Regions from separate parts of the Homo sapiens genome. Here regions 1 and 2 are each linked to region 3. The links are contacts of gene promoters, found by promoter capture Hi-C in blood cells and fetal thymus (Javierre and others, 2016). All regions are on one chromosome and are shown on one strand. Each heading gives the region's core, a stretch centred on a gene start or on the middle of the fragment in contact. The rest is flanking DNA. Distances are from core to core; before and after follow the strand shown.

Region 1 (2,718 bases), core at 132-2,631, 530 kb before region 3:
GCTTTTATGAAATAGCCCACTGCAAACTTCTAACTATCCTTCTATTATTCAGGCAATGCATTTCTAGTGGTTATGTATAATTCAACCCTCAAATCCTACACTTATGAGGCTCCTATATGTATGAGGGGTACTCCAGATGACCCTCTTGGGCAAAGTCCCTTCCCAAATGAACCTAGTCTGGTTTTCTCCAATGGGTTTACTTAGCCGACACAGGAACATAGTCCATTACATTCTTGGGACCTCATCTGATTTTAGGACCAGAGTCCTATTTTAACATTGTTTTAAAGTTATATTTTTTAATGAAGTATATCTTTAATTATTACAAAATAACATTTTTGTCCTATTTTTGTGTTTTTAAGCTTAAGTGCCTACTTCTCTGATATATATATATATGTATGTATATATATATATATCAACCTTTTTTTCTTTTGTGTGTTCACAGAATCTTAGTGTCTCTTCCTTTTATTTAGCTGATATTTATATAGCTATCTTTACTTTTTTTCTTTTGTGTATTCATAGAATCTTAGTGTTTCTTCCTTTTATTTAGCTGACATTTTGTATGAAGTATATCTTTTGTTAATATAGTATGCTGTTTTATTTTTAAACCCAGTTTGGCACTTTCTATTTTTATTGGGAGAATACTGTCTATTCAGTCTATTCACATTTAGTTCAAAATTGATATACTTGATTTTTATCTTATAGTTTATTAGTTTTTAAATATTTGTTGTTTCTTCTTTTATATTCTTTATTAGTTTTACCAACCATTTCTTTTTTTCCCTTTGTCTTTGATTTTTTTTTCATTGCTTTTTTTGATTACTCTTATTACTTTGGGAGTACTAGTATACTTTTCCATTCCATTATTGATTATTTTCTTTTCCTGGTGTTCATAATGAGGCATATGATTTTATTTTCTTATATGAAAACTGAGTTCCTCCATTATTTTCCTACCTCTATCAAGTGAGATTTTTAGAATACATTTATTATCCCTTAATAATAAGACTTTTTTTCTCCTCCCTTCCACTTCTCTTTCTTTCCACCTCAGCCAAGCACCTAAGTTTTTGCCAAGATATTGTGTTACATTATAGAATATCTTCATGTCAAGAATACTTATTTAGCTCTTACATTATACATTCTCAGACAGTCTATTCTTATTCTTTTTTTTATTATTTTTTGAGACGGAGTCTCACTCTGTCACCCAGGCTGGAGTGCAGTGGCGCAATCTTGGCTCACTGCAACCTGCATCTCCTGGGTTCGAGCAATTCTCCTGCCTCAGCTTCCCAAGTAGCTGGGATTACAGGCAGTGCCCGCCACCATGCCCAGCTAATTTTTTGCATTTTTAGTAGAGTTGGGGGTTCACTATGTTGACCAGGCTGGTCTCAAACTCCCGACCTCAGATGATCCACCTCCCTTGGCCTCCCAAAGTGCTGGGATTGCAAGCGTGAGCCACCGTGCCCGGCCAAGTCTATTCTTATCCATTTAAAGTTAAGTATATATAAATAGCCAGATTTCTTTTATCACTTCTTTTATTTATATTTATATTTTCTCTTCATTCCCCTATGTTGAGGTGTTGGTTCTGATTCCTTTGTTGTATGGTTAAGAGTCCTTTTATTCCCTCAAATAACATATGCACGCACTTATTTTATTTATTTTTTAGAGACAAGATTTCATTCTGCCACTCAGGCTGGAGTGCAGTGGCACAATTATAGCCCACTGCAGCCTCCAACTCCTGGGCTCAAGCAATCCTCCTGCCTCAGCCTTCCAAGCAGCTAGGACTACAAATGTGCACCACCATGCCCAGCTAATTTTTAGTTTTTTTTTTGTGGACACAGGTTGTCCCCATGTTGCCCATGCTGGTCGGAAACTCCTGGGCTCAAGTGATCCTTAGCCATCTAAAATGGTGGGATTACATGCATGAGTCACCACACATGACCCACTCACTTATTTTATATTTTATTTTACAGTTTTGTCTTTTGGTTGACAATCCTAAGTCAGTCATTCATGTGAACCAATTATAAGCAATTCTATGTGGTTTGTAAACAGTGGCAAATTAAGAAAGTTGGAGAGTAGATGAGAAGATCATGGAGGGTCCATGTGCAGGTTTATGGAATATGGCTTTATCTGAATACACAGTTTTTTAAGCACAGAAAGATTTTTAAGCAAGGGAACAATACGATTAGATTTGCCTGCTCACAGAATGGGGAACAAAATTGGAAAGAGAGTAGGGAGGAGAATAACAATAATCTAGGTGAATGACGATTGAAGGTGTGTCATCACAGTGAACATGGAGCCGATAGGTGGTATTCAATAGTTATTTAGAGGCAATGATAGTTCATATGCTTAGTAGTTGTCTGGTACTTTAGTAGTTGCCTTTCTTGGGGTATTGAATAAGGAATGGACAGAAACTGAAGCTTAAAAGTTAGGAATGGTGTTCAATTTAATGAGGGAGAAAGTTTACATTTATAAAACTTGTTCAAAATGTAGATGGCAGGTGTAGAGATTATGAAAGATTTGTTTCATTTGTTACTTATGACCAGAAATTGTCTATATTATTCATATTTAACCTTCATTGAATATTTATAAAGGTCTTGATACTTCTTCAGGTGCTGAGAGCAATTTTTTAAAAATTAATGATTAGTTCTTATTTTCAGGAGCTCAGAGAACAATAATACATTGTAATTTTTAGATGTATTCCATTCTAATTAAGAGTACAGATATCAT
Region 2 (2,782 bases), core at 140-2,639, 580 kb before region 3:
ACAAGTTATCATTACTTCACTTGGATTAGTATGATTGCCTTTTGTGTCTAGAGTTTTCTTCCCCTTAATCTACCTTCACATAGTCACCAGAGTAACAAAATTGAAATGTAATCTGACCACTTTCGTCTACTTTAAAAATCTTCAATGGTCCCCGTTGCCTATAGGATTAGACTCCGTTTCCTCAACACAGCATATAAATTCTTCATGACTTTGAGTCTCAGCCGAGCTTGCTAGTCACCTCCCTATATGGAACTTTATATCCCAACAATAATGAATTTGTACCTACTTTTCATCCTCAGCATGTTGTTTCTTATCTCTGTGCTTTTGTTTATGTTGCCTGGAATTACTGCTTTCTCTTTCTCCTCTTCCTCCCTGGCCAATATACCATCCTTGAAGTTTCATCTCAGATATTACCTTCTCCAGGAAGCACCTCCCCTCGGTTTGGGTTAGAAGGTCCTTTAACATTTATGGTCACTTTTAATATTGTAATTTAATGTATACAATGATGTTTGTGTTTTCCATTCTATTGTAAGCTCTTTGAAGACAAGGTTTATATCTTAATCAACTCTATAATTGCAATGACAGACAGCAGCTGCATAATAAATTCATACTAAACTGAAAGAATGGATTATTTCAATTGTGTATACTCTGCCCTTCCATGTTACCCTGAATAATTGCCAATTGCTTCTTTTATACCCTTCTTGAGCATCTGTAAAAATACCAAGCTTGAAGTTTATTAAATAAATGTGATTAAACATTTTTTGTTGTGATCTCAATATTTTTCTTCAGATTATCACACTAATTCTCTTCTTTAAGCCTGAGATTTGAGCTAAAAATCTTAAGCTCTGGTATAAGGTATCAATTTAATAATAAATTTCCAGTCTTTTGTAGTATTTTATATTAATTTTTCTGAAAGACAATGGTGATGGAACTTCAGCATTATATACAAGTATATAGTGCATATACTTGTATATACATTATATACGAGTATATAGTGCATATACTTGTATATACATTATATACAAATCATATGCGGTCAATTTTAGCAAAATTGGAATAAAATTGGTAATGCTTCTGATAAAAAAAAAGCAGTAACATTTTGTAAAAACCAAGTCACCTGTTGATCTGTAGTATATTCTGTAGCATCATCATGACTGCAGATCCTATTTGGACATTGTCAGCTTGCAGTAAATGTAAGAAATGATCACTTTGTAGTACTAAAGGAAAAGAAAAAAAAAGAAAGATTAAAGTAAAGATTTTATGATAACAAAGGAAGATTTTGTTCTTTTCAAACCAAATCAAAGCATGACCATCTCTGCTAAACTTTCTGACTTTGTAGACTCTACGATAAAGAAGACTTTAAGATGTAAAATTCATGGCAATTTTAAATAGCGATAAATAAGTCATTTCATTTTTATGAATATAGTCAGAAAATAGGCATAAATACTAAGCTAAGAATCTATTGTTATCTCTTTAAATTGAAAATATCATATCCTAAATCTGAATCTTTTTCTTCTATCAATGAATTTCAGTGAATAAAAACAAATTTCCTGCAAAGACAGAATATAAGGAAACGGAAATGGCACAGATGACTATAATTGGTTGCTCACAACCTTAAAAAATTTAATTTTGTGACATATTGTTTTATATAATAATGAATACGCTAACTACAAAAATTTCCTTTTATTGATTTGTAATCTTTAAGCTCTGAGCAGCCAGTTATAACGATTTAGCACTGGATACTTATACAAGTTGCTTAACCTCTTAGAAACCATTTCTTCATCTGTAAAACTAGAAATAATAGCTCTCACATGAGCTAATGTAAAATATCCTAGAACAGGGAACATTTCTAATAAATGTCAGTTTCCATTCCATTCCATGCTCAATAACTGAGCATAACTACCAAAGGTATTAGTTATACTAACTGAACGTAGTTGCCTTTGGAAAATGGGAAATGGAGTGGGCATGAGGGTCAGGGATTGTGTGTGTTTTAATGATCCTTACAGAACTATTTGACTCTTTAAATTATGTGCATGCAATGATTCTGAGGAGAAAAGCTTAAAGTAAAATTTCAGTTCAAGTATTACTTAAAAAATATTCTTAAGAGTGTTACATCTATATTAGATGAAATTTTTCTAGGGAGAGCACCATGAATGTAACTAAGAATTATTTTTTCAGTCTTAAGAAAACATAAAACTCATACATGTTTATATCTCTCAATGTAAACAGAAATATCCTATAACTTCCAAGTTTACTAAAAGGTCATTAAATAAAAGCTTACTCTTACTTGGATAGTTAGACTATATGAGTTAAATCATATCCACCCTGAACATAGGGATTTCTCTCATGATAGGTCTAAAACACTGACTGTAATCTTTTAAACTTAAAAGTTATTTTTAGGAATAAACTGCTCAAATTATCATTTGTCTTTATCTTAGATTTGCTAAACAGAAAAAGCTAAAGTTTTATTTCAACAGTATTCTCCTTAATTTAATATTCACATTGTTGATGTAGGCTATGTAAAACTGGAATATCCATTTTAAAAAATTGTGAGCTTATTTCAACATGGTTTCATTTCAGTGTGGTTATCTGCACAGTTCATGTGGCATTTGTTTTTGGAAAAAACGATCAAACTGTTAGCAGTTGACTCTACAATAGCTATTAGTTACATTAAAATCTTTTCTCTTACCATTCTGAATAAGTTCAACATGGCCTCCCAAAAGCCAGAAGAGAGAATCAGTCACAATTTGGAAAAAGTGTAGTAATTCATCTTTTTCTTCAG
Region 3 (2,944 bases), core at 210-2,709:
TACGTCCTGTCCCACAAAAATAGTAAATTGCACCAAGTATGTTTTATCAACTAAATAGCTCTTCTGCACCTTCTTCTCTCCCACAAAAACTCTACTTACAAAAGTAGGAGAGGAATGGCAGAAGCTGGAAACTGAGTTCAGGGAACTGCTACAAGATTGTTACAATCCTTATCCACGCATCCCGAGCTTTACCACAGCAGATTACCCAGAGCTTCCCAGACAAGGCCGGAGAGCCGCGGAGAGAACTATGACCCCCCTCCTCCCTCCTCCTACAGAGCAGCCTCGCTCCCTAAGGCCAAACCCGCGCCCCCCATGACCTCCAATGGCTCGAGAAAAGAGCTTTGAATTGCCCGCTTTTTCCAAAGCTGGTTCATACTCCCTCGCAAAGCAGGGAATAGGGTCTGGGGACAAAAGGAGGCACATGCCTGCCACATGAGGAAAACCCCATCACCTGGAACTCGGCGAACTCCTCACAGTTCACACCGCCACTGGGCGCCGCCATATTGGACAAACACGAGGACCCCGCTGCAGGCCAATCACCGCGGAGCAAAGGTGACCGCGGAGTCGCCTGACAAAAAATATAGTACGAGGGGAATCCTTAGGAAAGCTGAGTGCAAGGCTTGAGTTCAACGTGGTCCGCATCCACCTCGGAACCTGTCACCCTGCTGTCCCAACCCTTTTAACATGTCCTCCTGGAACTGGGCCAGATACATGGATCAAAGATTGTCAGACCTTGAAGGGACTGTTTACTCCAATCCCATCTTTTCACAAAAGGGAAACAATTTCCTTGTGGTTCCCCTACCAGGTCGTTGAAGGAAATCTAGGCAAGTGAGGCCTTTCTAATACCTCTCACTCCAGTGCCTAACCTCCTCCCCGGACCCTGGAGCAGGGGGGTCTTTGTTAAGAATTTGGGACCACTAAGAAACGTCAAGAAAAAACGGCATTTCTGGCAGTGTGGGTGGGTATGAGTAAAGTGTTTAGGATGGAGATGATCAAATGTTTTTAGAAAATAGGTAAATAGAAAACAAATTGAAAACATACATGTTAATTTCTCAGATTAGCCTGAGGGATGCTCCAACAAGAGATAGGGCCACTGAGCAGAGTCCAATTATGTGTTTTCTGATAAAAGCATATGTTCATTGAAAACACTGGAAGAGCGGCATACTGGAATACTGGTTTATCTGGTGTATTTCGGGAGTTTACAGATCACGAAAGTTGCACATTTCCTTTCTATTTCACACAGGTACTCCCATGGGTACATATCCGCTAGGGCAAGGGCCCACGGCGCCACACTCCACAGGACCATCTCCGAGGCTGGCTCAGGATGCGGCGCCAGGGGCACTAGGCTGGCGCCGCGGGTCTCCAGCGCGTGGCGCACGTCCTACACGCCCCGCACTGGCGCAGGCCTGTACACCGCGTCGCGCACGCCCCGCCCCCCGGCGCCGCCTGCGTCCTTCCCACTCCAACGCTGGGTGACATTGAGCTCACCAGCGCCACCGTCCCCGGCGAAGTTCTGCGCTGGTCGGCGGAGTAGCAAGTGGCCATGGGGAGCCTCAGCGGTCTGCGCCTGGCAGCAGGTGAGACGCCGGTCGGGATATGGGAGGTAGGGGAGCTGGCCCGGCCGCTGCGGGTGGGGGAATCCTGAAGCCTTCCTGGGCCCCGGAGTGGCTCCATTCCATGACGCACTTTCTCGGTTCCTCAGAATCCTACCTACTTAGTAGCCATGTGGGAGGGAACTAGGTGAGCAGCTGCTGATAGGCATTGGAGACTGCCCGTGAATTACCCTCATCTCCATCCACCCAGCTCCCACCAACTTAACTGCCCACGCGCCTACCCTTCTCCCCACCCCCGTCCTCAGCCTCCCCTGAGCTCAGTCTGTAAAGCACCTACTATCCCTAGACCTCCCCTTTACCCATGCATTCAGCTTTCCACCCTAACCTCCCCTATCTATTGCTCTCCTTGAGTCTTCCCTCTTCCCCCTGCTCCTTCCTCTCTGGAGTTTATCCCAGAAAACCTCCAGTCTGAAGTTTCCCCACTCATTAAATGTCTGATTAGGCCAAGGATTTAGGTCTTAGAGATTAATAATAATTGTTTTCTTAAAATGGAGGATACATTACTTTTAAACACTTATACAATTAATTGATTCGAATTTCTTGGAGGAAGTGTGTAATTGAAGGATCTGCAGTTTGTTTTGGTGGTAGACATTTGTGTGATGACTATTTTGGACTTAGGTAATGAAAGCTTAATTCTTTTTTTTTGGGAGAACCAGCAGAGCCTTGGCATAGTAGGGGTTGAGAAATCAGAGGGCTTGCATTTTGACTCTTTTCTGGGTACCAGAGATCTTTTGTTCAATGGCACACACTACATTATTAAAAAGTTGTTAATTAAATTTTTAAAGGAAAAATAGCCCCAAACTTGGCTATTCAAATAATATAAATATATATTGTAATGTAAATGAAGTAATGCAAAAAAAAAGAGTGAATGTTGCATAGTTTCACAAGTTTGATACATAACCTTCCCCACCTCAAGATTATCCTTTACACAGCTTATCTAGTGTTCCGGTAGAGAATGGACTGGAAAACATGTCTCAAACTAGAGAGTATTATTATATTTACTTCCTTTAAAAGCAAACACTTCTTCCACTAAAATCCTCAATACTATGATTTCATTGATTTTGTCAGTTTTGTTGAACTAATTCACCTAAAATATCTTCTGTACATCCTATTAACATTATGAAGCTTTTCAACAAGGCAAGTGAAAGGATCATTGCTCTGTAAAAAAGTTAAAATGGACTGCATGAAAAGAACTTTGACATCTTGGAACTACTTTGACATCTTTGAACTAATACTGAGTATATTGTAAGTAGTTCATCTTCTTGCTTTGAGAATATATTTATGCATCTTGCATAAATATATTTTTGCATCTCTGCAAACTTCTGATGTGT

What was found. Contacts are between HindIII fragments. The CHiCAGO score rates a contact against its expected background, and 5 or more counts as called.
Region 1: a contact is called between a fragment that was not itself captured here and the fragment with the promoter of FAM162A in region 3, in 1 of 17 cell types (M2 macrophages). The highest score is 5.0, in M2 macrophages.
Region 2: a contact is called between a fragment that was not itself captured here and the fragment with the promoter of FAM162A in region 3, in 1 of 17 cell types (monocytes). The highest score is 5.0, in monocytes.

What each region holds. Positions count from the first base shown.
Region 1 is chr3:121,849,543-121,852,260 of GRCh38, forward strand. All of the region lies in intron 2 of EAF2 (ELL associated factor 2), which reads left to right. Among named protein-coding and RNA genes, the nearest start is that of EAF2, 16 kb to the left of the region's middle. The HindIII fragment of the contact is 2,049 bases long and covers 358-2,406 here.
Region 2 is chr3:121,806,227-121,809,008 of GRCh38, forward strand. IQCB1 (IQ motif containing B1) reads right to left here. Exons shown (of 15, transcript NM_001023570.4): 6 at 2,690-2,782; 7 at 1,118-1,217. Among named protein-coding and RNA genes, the nearest start is that of IQCB1, 27 kb to the right of the region's middle. The HindIII fragment of the contact is 1,332 bases long and covers 724-2,055 here.
Region 3 is chr3:122,382,723-122,385,666 of GRCh38, forward strand. It overlaps FAM162A (family with sequence similarity 162 member A), which reads left to right and starts at 1,460. Exons shown (of 5, transcript NM_014367.4): 1 at 1,460-1,577. The coding sequence starts at 1,544. MIX23 (mitochondrial matrix import factor 23) reads right to left here and starts at 509. Exons shown (of 5, transcript NM_001017928.4): 1 at 452-509. The coding sequence starts at 502. RefSeq lists enhancers at 1,271-1,771, 1,595-1,644 and a silencer at 1,355-1,504. The HindIII fragment of the contact is 2,247 bases long and covers 1-2,239 here.